Linked DNA regions of Homo sapiens: all the other regions are linked to region 2. The links are contacts of gene promoters, found by promoter capture Hi-C in blood cells and fetal thymus (Javierre and others, 2016). All regions are on one chromosome and are shown on one strand. The core of a region is centred on a gene start or on the middle of the fragment in contact, and the rest is flanking DNA. Distances in the headings are between cores, read along the strand shown.

Region 1 (3,207 bases), core at 634-3,133, 1.3 Mb before region 2:
ATAAAGAATTCTCACACATACTTGCATTTTTGGATTTGGTAGACGAATGAGAAAATCTGGCGAACCTCAGCCCATTCCTGCAGGGAGCAAACTGGCCTGCTCCCTTTAGAATAGAGGTGAACTTTACAGGTTGCCAGTCTCTTAGTCCCTGTCAGCCTCCAATGGCACTGGAGTGAGAGTTTGTAGCATGGGCTTTTTGGAAACCATTTAATGAGGCCATCCTACTACTGATGTTGTATATCAGTTAGCACTTTTGTAGCCACAGCCTTCAAGATGCCTAGCAATTTGTAATATTTAAATGCTTCTCAACCTCTAAGTAATAGCTCAAGTTTACCAAGCACAGATTATAGCGAGAACAGCAGTGTACTGGACAAGGCATTAATCTAAAACATGAAATGGATTCAAGTGTTTTCTTAGGGAAAGATGTGCATTAGTACTTCCCCCCCACCCTCATCATGAGAACAAACAAAGGGTGGTATGTAAGAAATGGCATGCAAATAGAATAGCATTGGCAAAATGAAGCGGTCAGAACCAGATTTCTATTTGTAAGCTGGTTCCTCAACTCACAGTGATTTGGAAGAAGGTCTCTTCATTTCTGGCCACTTTCGACGCTGAAACTGCCTAAGTTTTCAAGTGTCAAAGGAGAATGAATGTTAACCATCACCAAGAAAGAAAAAGTCCCCAAAGAACTATACAAAGAAGGTCTCCTAGGTGACACCTATCTTTGGTGGGTGATCCTGGTCTCGGGCAGACCAGAGGGAAGGGCAGTTTCTCAAGATAACAGGTGCAGACTCACAGAGATGAGACTGAAGGATGGGCCAAGATAGGAGAACTTTGTTTAGGCTTTAATAATAAAACGAAATACCTGTATTGCTCATAGCTTCCTCCATCTTTAAGTCCTAAATGAAGGAGAAATGAAAAACAAAACAGGAGCAGATAGTTTAGGCAAAACAACCCCAACACACCAGAAAACCATCTTATGCTTTTTTGTCACAATCCCATGATGCTGATAGTGTTCCCTACTCAGAGTAGACTGAATTATGAGGGGTAGACTGAATTATGAGGGGAACCTGCCCTAAGTCTCCTAGATAGCCTTGTAGATTGCCTAAAATCCAGTGTCACCATGATCAGTTTCAGGACCCTGATGGCTTCATTCAGCGCTGACCTTAGTTATGGTGAGGGAGGTAGATGCAGGCATGAACATCTGTGCTCCAGAGGACAGAAAGCCAAGAGCCCTGACCAAGTGCAGGAGGGAGTTCCCCTTTGGGCTCTGGGGAAGTTTTCCCGAGGATGTGGCAGGATCAAGTGCGTGGGCTCCGGGGTCAGCCCACCTTGTTCACCTTACTCCTCCATAAAATGAGGATAAGATTCACCTCAAAGCTTATCAGCTAACACATGTAAAATGCTCAGCACAGAGCCTGGCACACAGTGACTAATATGTCATTGCACTTTGATCACAAGAGTAGCAGCACTTGAGTGGCAGAGATTAGGAAGCTACTAGTGAAAATTCTGATCATATCAGGCTCCTGACCAGAAGTATTAGTGCAACATCTTGTGTAAACACATTAGCTCTTCCCTCTTCATAACTAGAGCCGACGGTAGCGTCTGAATTCCTCCTAAGCTGTGTAGCCATTTTCCTGACATGAACTCTAGGCATCCTCCTAGACACAGTCCCTTCCCCAAGGGACCTTAAATACCAAAGGTTTTTTTTAGGCCACTCTCTCTCACTAGTAAGTGAACTTCATTTTTCTTTTAGCTTTGTTTTCTTTTTTTAATATATTTTTTTTATTTTTAGAGATGGGGCGACAGCTCTGTCTCCCAGGCTGGAGTGCAGTGGTGCTATCATAGCTCACTGTAACCTTGAACTCCTGGGCTCAAGTCTCCTCCCACCTCAGCCTTCCAAAGCCCTGGAATCATAGGCATGAGCAACCATGCCTGTTTAGCTTTTTTCATCTTAAAATATCTATCTGGTTGGCATTCTAAACTTAAAACTGCAGATTTTGTCCTGTCCCAAACAAAACTCAGGATTTACCTGGGACTCCTAATCCCGCACCTCCCATCACCATGTTGTCTGGGGGCTTCACCACCTGAATCTGAAATCCATCATCTTTACTGCTCCCACCTCTAGTCCAAGCCACCACCATTTCTCCCTGGATAACTGGGCCATCTTCGCTGTTTTCTCCCATAAAGTCCCATTCTCCACCTAGCAAATGTCGGTGCCCAGGTTAAAACCCTCCATTGGCTTCCTGATACACCACAAATGAAATCTAAACTCTACCGTGGCCTAGGAAGCCCCACACAGGGTGGCCCGATGCCCTCCCGCCACTCTCCACTGGCCTCAGTTGTGTTGGCTGCACCCCCTGAGCTGCTTTCTGCTCCTCACACTTTAAGCTTCCTGGAGCGCCAGCCCTCCACGTTTTCTCAGTGGTCGATTGCATCCTACTTTTCAGGACTCAGTTCAGAGGTCTGACCCTGGTTTTATTTAGCAGTGCCCTTCCCCAGTCACACTGGATTCTACCATCCAGTTTTACCCTTTCCATACAAGCAAGAGGCCTCCTGCTGTGGACTGCTCTTCTTAGGACAACACTGGCTCCACACAAGTCAGCGAGGATGGGGTCATCTTTAGTCAACATGGTTTCAGGTGTAAGTTCTCAGGAAGTGTTTGTTGAATGCATGAGTGGACAAAAGGGAGGACAATGAAATGAGACGGAATTCCGTGTGTTTCCTGGGCAGTTGGTGCAGGTGTTCCTCTCTCAGGAATCACAGCTTGTTAAAGGTCATCTGCCTGCTATGGACAGGGGCTCCCATGACTCGTCTGGAACTGTATCACCTCCCAAAGCCTGGTGATTTCAGGCTCATTCTTGGGGTAGACACCACCTCCTGAGTCCCTTCCTTTGGTTACCCTGCTGTCCAAGGGCCCCACGTTGGGGTGCCTACTCACCCAGGTCCATGTTTCGAGTCCGGGGGTTACACTGCTTGTAACCCTTGCAGCTCCTCAGCTCCATGAGCTGTACGTGTAGCTGGTTGAGGACATCCCTGTCCAGTGTGTTCACTGCATTCATCAGCTGGTTGCAAAAAAGGTAGTCTGTCAACAAGGTAAGTACAGGGACTCTCGCCCTGCCCTTCTACCAACCAGGGGACATATTTCAGGCAGGTGGCGGGTGGAAGGTGCTAGGGGCTGGTGACCTGTTTACTCCAACTTCTGCA
Region 2 (3,258 bases), core at 671-3,170:
TGACTGCGAAATCGCATTACAAGCAGTGGAACTTGCAGAATTTAAGGCCATGAAATATTCAACGTGACTGTAGACCGGGCCCTGGGGATATGGCCTGCCCCTCTGCAACCGTGCTTTAGTGAGACAACAAATAGTCAACACGTACAAAAGCTCAGAAAGTGCTGTGGAAAACATCAGCTAGGGAGAGAGGGGGCTACTTGAGACAGGTCAGGGAAGGCTTCCCAGAGACGTCTGAGCTAAGACCCGAGCACTGGAGCATGCCTGCCTGGGATGTCTGTGCCTCTGAGGTTTCCAAGGAAGACAACTGTCTTTGCATAAGCCCATGGCTGCCCTTGGGGGAAGGGGCCCAGGGGACACCACTAATGGTTGCTGTGATAGCATCATTGTGGAATGGAGTGGAAGCTGCCTTGGGGCCAGAGTATCTGTCCCCCAGCACTCATTTGCAGGCTGTGTGACACTGGCCATCTGGGTTTCTTCCCCTGACTCCCAAAGCCCAGGTCCAGTTCACTGCACTGTGAGGGTTCACAGGTTTATAACAGGATAAACTACAGAGAGAGGTCAGTGCTTCCTGGTATACTATGCACAGCTGCGACACTCAATAAACAGAAGTTCACTGAACTGCAAGGTCACTGCTGCTGTGACAGGAGGGTCATATGGATGTGTGTATCTTGCCAGTGGCTGTGGTGAAACCCTGCTTGTGGAGAATAGACATAAACACACCTTCTCTCTCTCCCTCTCTGTCTTCCTTTCACCTCCCCTCTCCCTCCACCCCTTCCATTTCCTATTCTCCCAGCATGTTCTTTCCACTCTTCCTCACCTCCTTCCCCTTCACCTCCTTCCTACACCATTCCTTTTTCCATCTCTTTCCTGTTTTCCTAACTTGTTACTCTCATCTTTTTCTTTCTTTTCTGTTCTTCCTGACAGCTCCCCTTCCTACCTCCTCTCCCTTCACCCTTTCTCCTACTCTTTCCCCTCCTCTCATTTCTACCTCTCTTTCCTTTTCACTTCCCCTCTCCCTCCTGTCTTTCTCCTTTTTCTTTTACCTCTGTGCCTCCCTCTCACCTCTTCCCACACCACCTCATCTCCTCCATAACTAACTCACCTCCTTTTTGTTTGTTTGTTTTTTGAGACAGGGTCTCCTTCTGTGGCCCAGGCTGGAGTGCAGTGGTGCCATCACAGCTCACTGCGGCCTCAACCTCCGAGGCTCAAGCGATCCTCCCACCTCAGCCTCCCCAGTAGCTGGGACCACAAGCAGCGCCACCAGGCCCGGCTGTTTTACTTTTTATTTTGTAGAGAAAGGGTCTCCCTATGTTGCCCAGGCTGGTCTCGAACTCCTGGGCTCAAGCGATGCTCCCGCCTTGGCCTCCGGAAGCGCTGGGATTAGAGGCGTGAGCCGCCGCGCCGGGCCTCCCCCCTTCCCCTCCGCCGCCGCCTTCTCATCGCCCTTCCTCCTTCCTCCTGACGCCCCTTACTCCCGATCACTTCTCATTCATTCACCAGCTTCCAGTCCTCGCTCCCTCACCTCTTTTCTTTCCTACTCGCCTTCTCCTCCTGCCCCTTTATCATCTCTCCTTGTCACCGTTCTTTTTTGCCAATCCTCTCGTTCCCCTTCCTTTCCTCATCTCCTCTCTTACCCACGTCATCTCCATTCTCGTGCTCCCCTTCACCTCCCGTTACCTTGCGCTTCTCTCCTCTCATCTCCATCACCACCTCTCCCCGCTTTCGCCTTTCTTTAGCCCCCGCGTCCCCTATACCCTTCGCCCATGCCCACTCCCCTCCCCACCTTCTCTTCTTCCACCCTCCACCCTCGCCTTCTGTCTCTCGCCCACCTGACTCCGCTCCGCCCCCAGCCTTAGGCTCCGCCCCGCTGGGGGTCACGGGGCCGACGGACGCTAGGCGGCCGTAGCGGCCTCGCCAGTCACGTGGTCACGTGACGCGCTCCAACATGGCGGCGCCGTGGGGCCGAGGTGTCGCTTCCTGACGGGGCGGCGCGGACGGACGCGGCCGGTGCCGGCCGGGACGCCGGGCCCGCAGCCTAGCTCGCCATCTCGCTCACGCCGCCCGCCCGCGGGGCCGTCAGCCCCCGCCGGGCCGGGGCCATGCAGGAGAGCCAGACCAAGAGCATGTTCGTGTCCCGGGCCCTGGAGAAGATCCTAGCCGACAAGGAGGTGAAGCGGCCCCAGCACTCCCAGCTGCGCAGGGCCTGCCAGGTGGCGCTCGGTGGGTGAGCCGCTCCCGCCCTGCCCCGCGCTGGCCTCAGCACGTCGGCCGTTGCCCTATCCTACTCGGCCTTGGCCCGGCCTCCTGGCCTCCGCTTCCCCCCGATCCCGAATTCCACCCTTCCGGCCTCCTCCTCATTATACCCCCGGAGGAAGTGTTGCCCGGGCAGCTCGGGACTGGCCCAAGGTCACCTAGCAAGTTGGTGACAACCAGAGCTTGTTCCTCAGGGTTCCAGCTCAGGGCTTTTGCCACGATTCCTTGTCGCCCTGTTTCCTGGTTCCTCCCCTCACCACCTCCAAGTCCTAGAAACAGTAGCCCTTGCCCCAAGTTTTTTCGTTACCTGAGCTCTGCTGATTGGGGTTCCCCTAGGTGAACAGAGCATGTAGGAAGAGCCGTCCAACTGGTTTAGGGAAACCCCTGATTCTTGTTTTGGAAGTGCCCGTTGGAGAATGTTTTCCTTTGGTTTGGGGATCTCCCATAGCTCTTTCCCTCAAGGAAGGATTGTAGAAGGTGTTCTGGATCTCCCAGGCATTGTAGTGAGCAAGACATCTGCTTATTCCTAGCAGTCCACTAAAATACAAGGTCTTCAGCGCGAAGATACTTGTCTGACTTATTCATTGCTGTATCCCTTGCGCTTGCAACAGTGCCTGGCGCACAGTAGGTGCTCGATAAATATTTGCTGATTGAATGGACCCTCAGATTATGGAAAGAGGGAGAATTCTAACTAATAGTTAAAGGCTTGATAATTGATAGCAAAATCACTATCCTATCTTTCAGTTTTAATCATTTAACAAATATTTATCAAGTGCCCACTGCATACCAGGTACTGAGAATTCAGTGGGGAACAAGACGGACATGGTCCTTACCCCTATGGAGCTTATACTCGAATAGAGGAGACAAAATAATTAATTAAGAAAATAGGTGAGGTATTTTGGAATACTGATAAATACTATTTTGAAAATAAAACAGCAAGATGTGATAAAGAGGGCTTGAGGACTGCTTTCCATGGTCAGGAAAGTAATCTTTTCCAAGAGGAAA
Region 3 (3,575 bases), core at 159-2,658, 1.2 Mb before region 2:
CCTTCCTGCACCCTGCTTCGTGGCCCAGCAGGTCGGCCACTTCCCCTGCAGGCAGCTCTACGGTGGAGGCTCCACGCGGCTGCTTCCCCATTTGTCTGAGTTAAGTGCTCCTGGGGAACGATTCGGAGCCTGATGGGAGGAGGAGACCCTTCTGTTTTCTCTCCCAGCCCCAAATCTAACTGAAATTGCCTTGTAATAATTGCATTTGTGGTCTGTGAAAGCTGTGTCTCGTGGCGACCAGGGACTGAGATTAGCTGGTGAAAAACCTGGCACAGGGGCACACACGGCATCACTGGGGATACTAAGCAAGCCACGGACAATGGGGGAGACAGAGGGCTCCTGCAACCAGAAACCACTGGGAACCTCGGCCACCTCTCCCTGCTGCAGACATGTCCCCGCCATGCCGGGCCGGCGTAGGAACACGCTGTTCCTCCCAGCATCAGTTCTCCCTTTTCCCAGTAACACAGGTGGTAATGTGGCAGAGTGCCCAAAGCGTCTCTGCAGTCAGACTGTCTGGGTTTGAATCCTGGATCTGCCACCTCCTAGCTGTGGGACCACAAAGGACTTTGTCCCCTGTGGTTGTTGGCAATGAAACGACAGTGCACCCCCACCCACTGCTATGCACGTGGATGAACTGACAGGCATGCGAAGGGTGAAACAGGACCTGATCTGTCCTAGGGGCCTCCCAAGAGGCAGCCAGCAGGACAGAAAGCACCCGCTGCTTTCGGAGGACTTTCTCTCCCCCACGACGGGCCATCTGGCTGGAAATACCAACAGGGCTTCTTTAAGGACATCAGCAACTTTCGGTACATGTTCATCCCACACCATTTCCACCCACACACTACATTAAAGGTAATCGACAAACAGCTCTCTAAGAGTCCAAATGTTCCAGAGCTGACTCGCTGAATCATGCAACACCATTTCATTAAATATTTATTCACTTTGATTTGGCAATTTGTCCTCATATTTTGGAACCAGCACACAAACACATCTACGCACCTGCATAAATATACAACACATACATATACACACATGCATGAATACATATACACAAGCACAAATACACTACATATACATACATGAATATACAACACACATATACACACGAGTGAATACATGACATATAAAAATACACATATGCATTAATATATGGCACACATACGCACATGCATAGATATACAACATTCACATATACACAATGCATGAATATACAGGTACATATGTACATATACACGATGCAGGAAAATACAGTAAAAGCACATATACACACATACACGAATACACAACATACACATATACACAGGATATAAAATCCCAAAAAAGACAGAAATGCATCTTGCTTCTTCACCTGTTTCCTTCTCACAGCCAACTTCCAACTGGACTTCTGCCTCCGCAGCCTTCCCAGAGCCCAGACTTCCCCAAATGGCCAGAGGGCCCTTCTGAGTCCAAGAGCCATCAGGCCGTCTCCCTTCAGGGACGCACTGCTGAGCTCACTCTGTTTCAACTTCTCTAGGTCTCACGCTCCCTAGGAGCCAAGCTCTCTACCCCACCGAGCATTGGCACCTGCTCTTCCTTCTGCCTGGGACGCCTGCCTCCTCCTCACCGTGGCACCTCAGGTCAGATGAGAAGTTGTCCCTGGTCACCCATCCCTCTATAGTCACCGGGCTGTTTATTTCCTCTACAGCACTCTGCACTCTCTGAAATTATCCTATAGATGCATTTGTTTTCTTGTTTATCCTCATTTCCCCAACTAGGGTGTGGGGTCCGTAAGGCAGGAGCCGTGCTGCACTGTAGCCCCAGCGCAGTACCTGGCCCAGAGTGTGCACACGGTGAGCAGTGGCCGACAGGAGGGCTGGGTAGGTGCACCTGATTGAGGTACACAGCTGTGCAAGGTGGGGCAGCGCCCTCTAATGTTAAGCGTCACACCCCTCGCCCAGGAGTGCAGGAGAGGTGGCAACTGCATGTCTTACTGAAAGGGATTCTAGGCCTGGTGTGGTGGCTCACGCCTGTAATCCCAGCACTTTGGGAGGCCAAGATGGGCAGATTGCTTGAGCTCAGGAGTTTGAGGCCAGCCTGGGCAACACGGAGAAGCCCTGTCTCTACCAAAAAACCAAAAAATTAGCCAGGTGTGGTGCTGCACGCCTGTCGTTCCAGCTACTTGGGAGGCTGGGGTGGGAGAATCGCTTGAGCCCAGGAAGTGGAGGCGGAGGCTGCAGTGGACCAAGATCCTGCCACTGCACTCCAGCCTGGGTAACAGAGCCAGACCCTGTCTGGGGGGCAGGGGTGGGGGGAGAAAAAGAAAGGAAGGGATTTCTATTATAGTGTCTGCAGCACAGTGCTACATGCTGAAAAAAATGGGTCAACGGAGCAGGCAGGGCTGCCAACCTGAAGCACATCTGTGTGCAGAATACACTGAACCAGGGGTGATTTTGCCCTGCAGGGGACACTGGGCAGTGTGTGGAGACATTTTTCACTGCTATGACCTGGCGGGGTGGGGGAATGTGCTACAGGCATCTATCGGGCAGAGGCCAGGGATGCTGCTGACCATCTTCCAGTGCATGGGATGGCCCTCCTCCCCCCGTAAAGAATGATCCAGCCCCAAAGTGTCACCAGTGCCGAGGTTGTGAAACTCTGTGTAAAGTGCACAGTTTAAAAAGTTGTCCAAATGTACCATTAACGACAGGGTTGCAGTGTGGCTTTAAAGAGCTTGGTTTGCAGAGTCAGAGGACTCTGACTCCTTGGGCAAGCGAGTGCTCCTGTCTGAGCCTCAGTGAATTCTTCTATAAAAATGGGGGCAGCAACAAATGAGATTGTGCATAAAGAACTCTGAAAAAGGGCCAGGCGTGGTGGCTCATGCCTGTAATCCAAGCACTTTGGGAGGCCAAAGTAGGAGGATCACTTGAGCCCAGGAGTTTAGGTCTGCAGTGAGCCATGATTGTGCCACTGCACTCCAGCCTGGGCAACGGAGTGAGATTCTGTCTCTGAAAAAAAAAAAATAATAAAAAACAAAAAAACAGAAACAAAAAAGAACTGTGAGTTCCCAAAATACAGTCTGCTTTCCGTTTTCAGGGAGGGGGATGAAAACTTGGACCTCTGGAGAAATAAAAATGGTTGTTAGAAACCAGATGTGACACCGTTTTGGAAAATGGCAAGGCCCCTCCGAGACTCCAGTAATGAGCTTGGGGAGGAGTGTTCATGCCGCACAGTGAAGTCGGCTGAGCATGACACACATCTATCAGCAGAGATGGGCTGGAGCGCGGAGCCGAGCCAATGACAATAAACAGTGTTTGCCAAAGCAATTCAGAGAGGTCGGCGAAAGATGAAGCAGAAGCCTGTGGAAAGTCCGTCCTTCCCAAAACAGACCCGCGCCATTTCGCAGGCACGGAGTCTGCGAAAACAAAACGGGGTCTTTGCCCTTCGTGGCATCATCTCAATTCCAGTTGTCCGCGTGCCTCTCACACACGTTTGGCCGTTTTTATGTATCATTTGGACCGCTGCATACTTAGTAATTTCCTTCAAATCACTTCATTTGGTGTCAAATCAGCACTTCACACCGGCCTCTTGATTTTCGCCCT

The links. The method cuts DNA at HindIII sites, captures the fragments that hold promoters and counts their contacts. A CHiCAGO score of 5 or more calls a contact.
Region 1: a fragment that was not itself captured here is called in contact with the fragment with the promoter of ARFGEF2 in region 2 in 3 of 17 cell types (naive B cells, total B cells and naive CD8 T cells); the score reaches 7.5 in naive B cells.
Region 3: a fragment that was not itself captured here is called in contact with the fragment with the promoter of ARFGEF2 in region 2 in 1 of 17 cell types (naive B cells); the score reaches 7.3 in naive B cells.

Annotation. Positions count from the first base shown.
Region 1 is chr20:47,658,832-47,662,038 of GRCh38, forward strand. SULF2 (sulfatase 2) reads right to left here. Exons shown (of 21, transcript NM_001387048.1): 18 at 2,942-3,065; 19 at 866-899; 20 at 568-621. Among named protein-coding and RNA genes, the nearest start is that of SULF2, 130 kb to the right of the region's middle. The HindIII fragment of the contact is 1,011 bases long and covers 1,379-2,389 here.
Region 2 is chr20:48,919,791-48,923,048 of GRCh38, forward strand. It overlaps ARFGEF2 (ARF guanine nucleotide exchange factor 2), which reads left to right and starts at 1,921. Exons shown (of 39, transcript NM_006420.3): 1 at 1,921-2,220. The coding sequence starts at 2,100. RefSeq lists silencers at 1,682-1,761, 1,992-2,091, 2,132-2,181 and an enhancer at 2,552-2,631. The HindIII fragment of the contact is 17,186 bases long and covers 1-3,258 here.
Region 3 is chr20:47,710,768-47,714,342 of GRCh38, forward strand. All of the region lies in intron 3 of SULF2 (sulfatase 2), which reads right to left. Among named protein-coding and RNA genes, the nearest start is that of SULF2, 73 kb to the right of the region's middle. RefSeq lists enhancers at 1-329, 330-830, 611-780, 1,648-1,717. The HindIII fragment of the contact is 5,484 bases long and covers 1-3,575 here.